Linked DNA regions of Homo sapiens: regions 2, 3 and 4 are each linked to region 1. Evidence: promoter capture Hi-C in human tissues and cell types (Jung and others, 2019). All regions are on one chromosome and are shown on one strand. Each heading gives the region's core, a stretch centred on a gene start or on the middle of the fragment in contact. The rest is flanking DNA. Distances are from core to core; before and after follow the strand shown.

Region 1 (2,694 bases), core at 1-2,500:
AGGCAGGCGCCCTCTGGAAAACACACTTCTTTTATTGACTGGTTTTGGGGGGTCGTTCTTCTACTCGCCTTCTGGATGGGAGGGCAGTCAGGAGCCAGCAAGAGCCCAGAGGCTGAGAGGAGGAGCAAAGGCGTGGGGAGCAGCCTTTGGGAAGGGTTCCGAGAAAGGGGTCTCTGGGGACCTCCTAAGTCCGGGGCGCTCGCAGGACACTAACTCTCCGGCACTGCCACCCTTACCCCTGGCCGAGGCGCAGCTCACCTGGACGCAGGGACCCCCAGCGCCCCCAGGCCAGGTGTGGCCACCTCCGACGCCACCCGCAGTCCTCGGAGGCGCAAGGGGGCAGCGGCGCCGGCCCTGCTGGGGGCGACCTGGCCTCCCCCGGGTGCAGAGGCACGTTTGCAGAACACTCGTGTGCGTGTGCGCCTCCTCGTCCTCGCCCTGCTGTTCTCCCCACGGACGGCAGGGCGAACGCACAAAAAGAAAGTTGTCGGCGGGCTCCCGCCCCCTCGGGCTCGCCGGGGACCCGGGGCTCCCGCTCATCCCCGCCGCCGGCCGGCCGGGGCCGCTACTCACCGGGGTCGAAGTCGGGCACCACCGCCTGGTACTGGGGTCCGACCCTCATGCCACCGCCACCTGCGGGGGAAGCAGAATACGGCGGTCAGCGCGGCGCGGGGCGCGGGGCCCGGGGCCGCGGGGGCGGCTGCCACCTACCGTGCTCCTCGTCGCTGGACGAGCCCGAGCTGCCTTCCTCCCAGGAGTTGCTGCTGCTGTTGCCATTGGGCGCCGCCGCCGCCAAACTTTTATTCTGGCCATTATTGGGGGCGGCGGCGGCTGAGGCGGCGGCGGCCGAGGCTGAGGAGGCGGCGGCGCCCGAGGCGGCAGTGGCGGCTGGCGAGGCGCAGGCGGCCGAGGCGGCGGCGGAGGCGGCGGCGGCGGAGGCGGAGGCGGCCGCGTTGTTCCTCCCTCTCCGCTTCCCTGAGACCTCGGGGCCCTTCTCCACCATGGCCGGCATCGGCGGGGGCCGGGGCCGTGCGAAAGTGGCGGGGACCCGCGGCTCCTGAGGAGGGGGCGCCGAGACGGGGGAGGGGGCGCGGGGCCGGCGCGGGGCCGGGCGGGCGCGGCGGGAGCCCACGGGCGCGAGTCCGAGTCGGGGGAGGCCCAAACGGGCAGAGCGCGGAGCCGCTTCAAGCCCCCAGCGACGAGCCGAGCGCAACTTTCGCTCTCATCGCCGCCCTCACTTCACTGGCACCAACTACTCCGGGAGCAGCGAGCGGAGAGGGGAGGAGGCAGGGGCGGGGCCTGCAGGGGCGCCGGGGGAGGGGGGCGCGCAGCCCAACTGACGCGAGATGGCTCCGCCCCCCCTCGCGCTCCCATTGGCTCTGGTGGGATTTGGACAGCCAGCGGCAGCGGGGTTGGCTCCGCGCGCCCGTCCGTCCGGGGCGGCGGGGCGGGGGAGCGGGGAGGGGCGGCTCCGGGCTTCCGTTGGCGAGGTTCGGTTGACGCGTATCGCCCGCCGTACGTGGTTTGAGGTTTGCCATCTCCCTACGCCCCATGATCCATCTCTCCAGGCAGCGGCGAGGAGTTCGCGGCCCTCCCCGCCCCCTACCCTTGGCCGCGGCCCCTGCCCTTGCTGCCCGCGCACGCCTCCCGCAGCCTCTGGCCCCCCATCTGAAGGACCCCGCTGAGAGTCCCGTCGACTTCTCAAAGTAAAATGTGTCTGGCGCTGGGAAGCCGCGGAGCGCCCGGCCGGGACTACTTTCCGCTGCGCGGAGGAGTACGGGCGCGCTAAGACTCCATACAAAGAGGAAACTAATTGGGGGAAACTCGCTGCGCCCCCGCCTTTCCCAGGGGACGCGGGGCTGGCGGGGGCGGGGGCCGCGGCGCGGGGGACGGGCTTCCCAGGCGGCCGCCTCCCCTGGCGCGAGCTGCGTGGGGACTCGGGTCTGCGGTGCTGCCCGCTAATTGGGTGGGGGAGGCCGGGGCCCCCGGGGTGGCTTGGGTGCGGGGTGCGCCGCGGCTTCAGAGGCCCAAGGGAGGGTCCCCGTGGGTCCCCGGGGCACAGAGTCCCGGCGTGGGGACGCCCAAGCCGCCTGGGTGGCCGCTGAAAGATGAATGAAGGGGCCCAGTCGTCCTGGGGCGGGGGTCCAGGAAGGGTAAAGAGGAAGAAGCTATTTTCATCCCAAGCTCTCGGCACGGGAGGAGGGTCAACTTCTTTCGGGGCGAGGGCAGCCACTTTTCCGGACCTGCCGCCCGCCCCGCCTCCCTACTCCCCCCGGCACCCCCACGAGGGAGAACACGGGGTGCGGGCGGGTGGGGTAGGCTGAGGCTAGCCTGAGAGCCGCTGCCTTGGAGAGGGACCACCGGGCAGCCGTACAGCTGTTAGGAGGCTGAGGAGTGTAACTGCCTTGGAGGTCCCGGTGCCCTACCCCCAGCCAACCCTGAAACTACGCGCCCTTCGTAATTAGACCAGTGGAGGTCTATACGGAAAATCTTTTTAAAGCAGGGAAGGCTATTTTTCTTTTAAGTTACTTCAAACCTGAGCTTAATTTGGGGACTAGCTCTGGATATAAATAGCTACAGGGAGAATTTGGGAGTTTTATGGTTTTAAAGCCTGAGTAAATAAGCAGGGTTTTGTCTTGAACATTTTCTGCAGCATGAACCATTATTAACTTTATTGAAGAGACCACGTTCACT
Region 2 (2,694 bases), core at 62-2,561, 410 kb after region 1:
TCCATTCCTCCTTCATTCTCAAACATACTAGTACAGCCCACACTTGCTTGGCATTCCAAACCCATCCCCTTCACTAAAGACCAACCGTTGGTGCATTGTCTCTAGCGCGCTTCTGATGGGCTCTGACCTGGAATGAGCCCCGGCCAACCACGTTCAAGGGGCTGCGTTTAGCCGCAGCAAGGCTTTGAGAGGCGGCACAGAGAATTAGACAGAGGGGAGGCAGGCAAGACAATAAGTCAAACGTCAGCAAATAGCAAGATGTAAGACGTGTGGAACATCACCTTCATGTCATCCCAAAATGAGAAGAGACACACAGTCACAAAGTGCGTAACATGCGTTAAGTAAAAATTTCACAGTGACAATCTCTGGAATTGCTTGCTGCTCATCAGATGGCTTCTCCCAGGGGCCAGCAAAAGCCCCTCCTTTGGAGCTCTGCATCGGGTGGGGAGAGGGTGGCCACCAGGGGAAAGCAGGAACAAGCAGAGGGCGGACATTCTGTGGCAGCATCTTCCCTGGCCTAGCACCCTCAGTCAAGCATCTGCTGAAATAACAAGCTTCTGTTGTTCTCACATGTCACTTTTTCCTAAGGCAGCCTGTCATTTAGAAACTGCTAGCTATTACAATCTACTTCTCTTCCTTCAGAGTAGCTTCTTAAAGATGAACTTAAAAAACAGCTACACTGCAACATCTTTACCAGCTCTTCATTCTCTGATGCTGTACTCCACGGAAGGTTAGATCTCCTATCGCAAGGCAAGTCACCACAAATGGCTGTTGTGAGGCTTCCTTAGGCTAATGAAATACTGATTTCTTCATTAAAGAAAAGCTATGAATAAACATCAAGATAAATTCAATTTGCACACATACTAACACCAGATCTCATCACATTAAAATGCTGACATATTCAAATGACCTATTTTTATTGAACCCTTCTGTTAAATATGTATAGGAATACGTATTCCCATTCTAAAGGGAATACCAGTATCTCACACTGACGAAAAGGCAAGATGCATTCATTTCTGCAAAAGATGATTTCAAATTCTTAGAAAAAAATGTTTTTTAAAGATAGAATTCTATGCCTTTCTGAAAGTGTTGAGACAACACTGGTAAATTACAGAGCATTGTAGAGCAGAGAGTAATTCCTGTGTGCTGCCTAACTACTACACTGTTGTTGTTCTAACCTTTGGGCCATCCATGGGCTCATTATATTCAGCAGAGCACATAAATGATTTTAAATTTCCAATTCAAGTTGCTGAGTAACATAAGCAACAATCGGTAGAAGAGTTCCCATCCTAAGTGAAAACGGCCCTAAGTCCCCAGTTGTGCAGAGGGCCTACAAACTTCCATTTCCTCATCCTACAGAGAAACTGAGGCCCAGGAAGAGGTGGTGATCTGCCCAAGGTTCATAATGCTTACAACTTCACCTTTAACCATATCTAGCTGTTTCTCCCTTTTCAATCACCCAGCGTCAGCTAGAACAAGCTACTGAATCTGTAATGTCTAAAATTTCAATAAACAACACGTGTAGCAGTAATTGTATATCATATGACAGCATTTTGGACATAGTACACTGCTGTGTTTCAAACAGGAAGCAAAAGAGCTAGAGTGAGAGAACATTAAACATATCTTAAACATTAATGGAGATCAGCTACTAAAACAAGTGGCCAAAATGCTTGACTTGGCTTCTGTAATTCAAATAATCTCTGATCCAACCAGGCGTGAGCTGAAGAATACAGCCTCAAATCAATTTGGGTAACAGAGAGCTGATCTTCCAAATACTAGTGTGAGGAAAAGCTTTGATCTCGCCTTCATCGGAAGTTCAACAGCATTAGTTCATCACTGCAACTACTCACTTGGCACTTGTGCTGTTAGTCATTTGTCATATATGTCGAATATCCTCAAATAACCTAAAAAAAATGTTCATGGCACAACTTTCTTTTTTTTTCTCTCTCTCTGAGACGGAGAGCTCTGTTGCCCAGGCTGGAGTGCAGTAGCGCAATCTCGGCTCCCTGCAACCTCCACCTCCTGGGTTCATGTGATTACCCTGCCTCAGCCTCCCAAGTAGCTGAGATTACAGGTATGTACCACCTGTATATTACAGGTATGCACCACCTGTATATATATGTATTTTATGGAATAAAAAAAGTCTAATTCTGTTTGGGCCATATATTTATTTACATGTACATATTTGCAAAGAAAACAGTTTGAAAAGATATTCACCAAAATATTAAAAGTGTCTACCATTAAAAGAGGGGGTAATATTTAGATAATATTTTTTGCCTTTTTGTCAATAATCATATATTATATATAATTTTTTAATAGAAAAAAATAACCAAAAAAACTACTAAAACTATTTCAAAATTATTCTAGTAGTTTAAAAGCATGTCATTGCTTGGTATTAGGGTCACAGAAAAATCTGTGACTTGATGAACAGTAAAATTCACAATAAAAGGAAGCTTACTGTAACACTGAGCAAATGCATGAATGGGAATGATATATCATCAACAGATGATAATATATTCCAAACAGGCCAAATCATAAAGTTTCACACCAATTAAGACCACAGGAGTCTATTACTCATCTTTCTGTGGCATCAGTGACATCACTCAATGAGAGGAGAGAGGCCAGGAAAATTATTTAAAGAAGCCAACCATTCAGGCAACAGATGAGGAAGCCATGGCTAGTTCTTTTGTTTTA
Region 3 (2,694 bases), core at 62-2,561, 400 kb before region 1:
CTGGGTCCCAGCAAAAACATCCTTTAAATCACTGTTATCTGTAGTTGGGATAGGAGGGCTTTTTGTAACTTTAAAGTCCATTTCAGTTGACTTCTTTATGTAAATCTTACTGAGATATGTCACAGGTATTCAGTAAAGCTCCCAAACCGAGGGGTGCAACTCAGTGGATTGTTCAAAACTGCACGCTCACAGCAGCACCCAGATAAGCCCCCTTGGGGCTCCCCCATCACTCCCTCCCCAGGGGTCACCACCCCTCATCCCCCCCACAGTGCTATGCAGAACTTTCCACAGTGACAGAATGTTCTAGATGTGCACTGCTCAATACGGTAGCCCCAGCCACATGTGGCTCATGAGCACTCAAAACGTGGCTGGTGCAACAAAAGAACCAAATTCTTCATTTTATGTAATTTACATTAATTTGAGTTTGAATAGCCCTCTGTGGCTAGGGGCTACCATGTTAGACAGTGAGGCTCTGAAAGCATAAATCAGCTTTGCCTGTTTTAAAATACTATATATATGGAATCATATTACATGTGCATTCTTTTAAAAGTTTTCTTTTTAAATAATGTTTCAAATAATTTCAAACTTAAAAAATTTCAGTCTTATACAAGGGTTGCAAGAACGGTACAAAAAGCACCCATATACTTTTAATCAGATTCACGTATTGTTAATATTTTGGCTCCTATTATATACATCCCCCTCCCTCTCCACATGTGTACACACACGTACAGATTTTTCCTCACCCATCTAAGAATAAGCTGCATGTACCAAGAGCATTTACCCCAAAATTCTTACTTACACTACTCATGCTTAATCATACCCTCTTTACTCAGATTTTAGCAGTTGACCCAGGAGCATCTCTTACAGTATTTTCTTCCCTCCAGTACAGAATCCAGTCCAGGATCACATGTTGCATTTATTGTCATGTCTTCTTTAATCTCTTTTAATCTAGAATAGTTCCTCATCCTTCCTTTGTTGTGACATTGGCATGTTGGAAGAACATTGATGTGTTTGGCGAATACAGTGTCCCTTGCTTTTTCAGTAGAAGACTTCTTTGGTTTGGTCTGATGTTTCCTTCTGATAGATTGAGATGATGTGTTCCTTCCTCTTGGAATGTGTGTGTATAGCTATATTGTGTCCTTCTCAGGGTGTCATTTCCACAGGTGTACAATATCCATCAGCCCCTTGGTGGTGATAAACCCATCACGCAGTTAAGATTTTGTTAGATTTTTCTGCTATATAGTTTTTTCCCTGTGGGGAGATACTTTTAAGACCATGCAAATATCCTCTTCCTCTTTAAAATTTCCTCCAGAGATTTAGTACCCATTAATGAATTTTGCCTAGACCAGTCTTTGCATGGTTGCAGATTGACTCACAAACTCCAGACCCACCATGCTGACCAGTCGTCATCCGGCTTTCTCCTCTAAGGAAGCAACCCCTTTCTCCCTGTGTATTGGTCTGTTTGTGATCAGTGTGGCTACATGGATCCTTCTTTCTCCCAGTGGTTTTTAATTCACTATCTTAGTTATTTTTGTGCTGAAATTGGCCCATATTTGGCATTCTAGCCGACTCCTGTGTTTGCGCTGTGCCTCTTCACTTTTTGAGGATGCCCTTAGTTTCTGGCTCATCCTATACCTTCTCTGTCCCCACTCCGTTGTTTCTCAGAAGAGCTCAAGGCCCTTTAGTGGGGAGCGGCTTTGAAGACCAAGTTCTGGGTGCTGGGCATGCGCATTACTATGGGGTTGCCTGCTTCTAGGCCCCTCAGTGCACAGAGGTAGTAACAGAGGTATAGACACACTCATGGACACACACGTCTACCTGTGCATACTCAGGAATCATGAGTTAACTTCCTGACTTCCTCCCTTTCCAGACTTTTGTCTTCCTCCTACTGAAACTGTGACTCCCAGCACCGTTAGTACGTGCACTCACTCAGTCCTGAGATGTGTCTAAAAAAGCTTTAGAATTGCTCTGCCCAGGACACCACAGAAGCAAACCTGCCCGCAGGCATTCCGGGTTTGTTTGCGGTTCTCCCCCATCTCATTGGGACTGCACCCCTCACCTGCAGTAATTCAAGTTCTGTGTTCATAAGTCACTTGGATTTGTTTTGTTTTGTTTTGTTTTGTTTTAACCCCATCTCCCCCTTCAGTGTTGTTATTTATTTGAAATACAGTTGGATTCATTGGTTTGAATCAGTTTTCCATTTTAGACTTCCCTTCCGCCTTTGTTGATTGAGTTTTATTCTTTGAGTACGTAGGACGTTAGCGTGCTTCCAAAACTGCATGAAGTTGTACTCAGAAGCGTCGCCCCTTCTTTATCCTGCCCACCTCCGCTGGCAACCCAGGATCCGTAGCCAGTCTGCTGTCTTCTGCTATCGTCCATGCAGGCGTTTTCTTGTTTATCCTTTGTTAAGCAAAAGGTGATACCTTTAAAAACTTTAGTGATGTATCCTGTAAATCATTCCATATCAATTCATGGAGCTCTTCATTCTTTTTTTTTTCTTTTTTTTTTTGAAACAGAGTTTCGCTTTTGTTGCCCAGGCTGGCGCGCAGTGGTGCGATCTCGGCTCACTGCAACCTCTGCCTCCTGGGTTCAAGTGATTCTCCTGCCTCAGCCTCCTGAGTAGCCGCCCGCCACCACTCCCAGCTAATTTTGTATTTTTAATAAAGACAGGGTACTCCATGTTGGTGAGGCTGG
Region 4 (2,694 bases), core at 92-2,591, 380 kb before region 1:
ATTTTGGTCAGTTGTTTTTTTTTAGACGGAGTTTCACTTTTGTCACCCAGGCTGGAGTGCAGTGGTGCGATCTCAGCTCACTGAAACCTCCACCTCCTGGGTTCAAGCGATTCTCTTGCCTCAGCCTCCCAAGTAGCTGGGATTACAGGCATGTGCCACCACACCCGGCTAATTTTGTATTTTTAGTAGAGACAGGGTTTCACCATGTTGGCCAGGCTGGTCTCGAACTCCTGACCTCAGGTGATCTGCCTGCCTTGGCTTCCCAAAGTGCTGGAATTACAAGCATGAGCCACTGCGCCCAGCCCCAATTGGCTTAGTTCTAATGATATTATTTTATAGTCACCAGCTAGAATCAGTTCCTGATATTTTATCTGTACGTTCTCTGGCTATTTTCTGCTTCTCTGTTACAGTTTTCCTTTTTGTGGCTTTCAGACAGTTCCTAGAGCTGCTTTCCTCCTAAAGCTTAATCAGTGACTCTGCCTGCTCCTTGGTGTTGTAGGTGCTAGACCTGCTGTCACCACTTTCTTTTGGCGGTTCCTAGGTTATCAAAGTTCCCTAAAAGCTCCAATCAGTTTTTGTTTTTTTGTTTTTTTGTTTTTTGAGACGGAGTCTCACTCTGTCACCCAGGCTGGAGTGCAGTGGCATGATCTCGGCTCACTGCAAGCTCCGCCTCCTGGGTTCACGCCATTCTCCTGTCTCAGCCTCCCAAGTAGCCCCCCACCACGCCTGGCTAATTTTTTGTATTTTTACAAAATAGAGACAGGATTTCACTGTGTTAGCCAGGATGGTCTCGATCTCCTGACCTCGTGATCCGCCTGCCTTGGCCTCCCGAAGTGCTGGGATTACAGGCGTGAGCCGCTGCGCCTGGCCTGGCTCCAATCACTTTTAAGCCTTAACCTCACACAGGTTGGCTCTGCAGTTGACCTTCACCTCCAAAGCACACTTTGAATCTCACCTTCTCTGCATTTCCTATCAGGAACCCCACTGTCCTGATCCAAAAACAGACTTCTTTGATTGAGTCACTTACTAACTAAAACTTTTCTTGCACGCTGAGAAAGGACAAGGGCCAGGCACTGTGCTGGGTGACACAGGTTAGAGGGACTGAGCAGACGAGTGTGTGCGCCACCCAAGGGCTCCCAGTGCTCAGGGGAGATCGCTGTCAGATCAGAGTAAAGTCTAGGGAGCCTGTTCAGCACAGGCATGCAGGTAGCTGTGCCTATGACACTGTGTGTGTGTGTGTGTGTGTGTGTGTGTGTGTGTGTGTAAGTAAAAAAACCTCTGAATGAAAAAGTGTTGTGAATTATTAAATAATTTCCTGTCAGTAAGTCAGCTAACATAAAGTTTACATATAGTCATTGCACATAAAGGAACAGAGTTTATTTCCTCTTTTGTCCAGATTCAAACAGGCTCGAGCGACAGCTTGAGGACACAGTGGCGCTTCGCCAAGAGCGTGAGGACTCCACGCAGCGGCTGCGGGGGCTGGAGAAGCAGCACCGCGTGGTCCGGCAGGAGAAGGAGGAGCTGCACAAGGTAGGTGGCTCAGTTTGGGGTGAGAAAGGCTTACGGGACTTTGCAGAATTCTGTAAGGTCACGTTCATGCCGATGATGGAAGACCTCTTGGGACTCCTGCCCATGGGCTGTCCCTGCTGCATGCAGGACGCCAGGGCCAAGCCTGGCCCCGGGGCCCCTGCCACGCCTGCCTGCTGCACAGCCCCCGCGTCGGCTGGCAGAGCTTGGCTCCCAGTGGCAGGTGCCTTCCACCCCCTTGCCCCCAGCGGTTATCCACCTCGCAATCAGCCTCTCCAGTCTCCACTTCAGACCCACAGAGAAAGCAGCACCCCACTGCATTCTAAAGCGAGGAAAGATGTCGATAGGGCATGGTGGCCGTGCACAGGGCATGGTGGCCGTCCACAGGGCATGGTGGCTGTGCATAGGGCATGGTGGCTGTGGCAACACACGCTGCGTCCCGAGCCAGGCCCTCCCCTTCTCTCCACCAGGCCTCTGCTCTTAGAAGGGGACCCTTAGTAATGACAGGGAACTGCAGCAGAGACCCTGTGTTAAAATCTGGGTGATTTCCCCCCATAATTCGTTTATAAATTTCATTTTTAGTAATATATGGGAAACTTTTATGCTCAGGTGTCAGCATGTTACTAACACAATTATATGCGTGTTTTCTAAAATACATTCATTGATACATGTTATTCTTGAACCTGTAGTTTGTGATCTGTTCTCTAAAATGTGCCAGGTATCAAACCCAGATTGTTTCTTAAGATAATCTGTGGGTCATCCACGTGAGTGATTTGTCTAGAAGTGCAGTGTGGGGCACATGGCATCTCATTGCTTGACAGGGTCATAGTACCTCCCAGCGGGCCCAGAGAGGCCTGGGGAGGCCTCCCCTTCACGTGTGGGAGCTGCCCTGCCAGCTTGCTCAGGGTCTTGTCACTTCCATCTCAGACCAGCAGGTGTGACAGTGACTGAACTGCCAGATAGTTGACCAGATTGGCTGCAGGGAGGTCAGGGTCATCAGCGTGGTGAGTGCAGAGTGACAGCCAGTATCCGCACATCAGTCTGCATTGAAGGGCAGGCTGTCCAGCGATTGTTTTTATACAGTTCTTCACTGTGACTTCACCTTCAGCACTTTGTGTCATATGTGTTCTTTTTGATTTTGCTTATGTTTAAGTAACTAGATTGAGT

The links. The method cuts DNA at HindIII sites, captures the fragments that hold promoters and counts their contacts. A contact is called where the count stands out against the background at its distance.
Region 2: a fragment that was not itself captured here is called in contact with the fragment with the promoter of RCOR1 in region 1 in 1 of the 25 tissues and cell types used here (dorsolateral prefrontal cortex).
Region 3: a contact is called between a fragment that was not itself captured here and the fragment with the promoter of RCOR1 in region 1, in 2 of the 25 tissues and cell types used here (lymphoblastoid cells and mesenchymal stem cells).
Region 4: a contact is called between a fragment that was not itself captured here and the fragment with the promoter of RCOR1 in region 1, in 1 of the 25 tissues and cell types used here (dorsolateral prefrontal cortex).

The regions. Positions count from the first base shown.
Region 1 is chr14:102,591,205-102,593,898 of GRCh38, reverse strand. It overlaps RCOR1 (REST corepressor 1), which reads right to left and starts at 1,250. Exons shown (of 12, transcript NM_015156.4): 1 at 712-1,250; 2 at 574-633. The coding sequence starts at 1,012. RefSeq lists silencers at 274-883, 944-2,253 and an enhancer at 1,832-2,647. The HindIII fragment of the contact is 11,930 bases long and covers 1-2,694 here.
Region 2 is chr14:102,182,319-102,185,012 of GRCh38, reverse strand. The region is part of intron 1 of WDR20 (WD repeat domain 20); the gene reads right to left. Among named protein-coding and RNA genes, the nearest start is that of WDR20, 44 kb to the right of the region's middle. RefSeq lists enhancers at 1-169, 170-671. The HindIII fragment of the contact is 5,381 bases long and covers 1-2,694 here.
Region 3 is chr14:102,989,675-102,992,368 of GRCh38, reverse strand. The region is part of intron 5 of CDC42BPB (CDC42 binding protein kinase beta); the gene reads left to right. Among named protein-coding and RNA genes, the nearest start is that of CDC42BPB, 67 kb to the left of the region's middle. The HindIII fragment of the contact is 4,337 bases long and covers 1-2,694 here.
Region 4 is chr14:102,972,852-102,975,545 of GRCh38, reverse strand. It overlaps CDC42BPB (CDC42 binding protein kinase beta), which reads left to right. Exons shown (of 37, transcript NM_006035.4): 12 at 1,397-1,530. Among named protein-coding and RNA genes, the nearest start is that of AMN, 52 kb to the right of the region's middle. The HindIII fragment of the contact is 3,116 bases long and covers 1-2,694 here.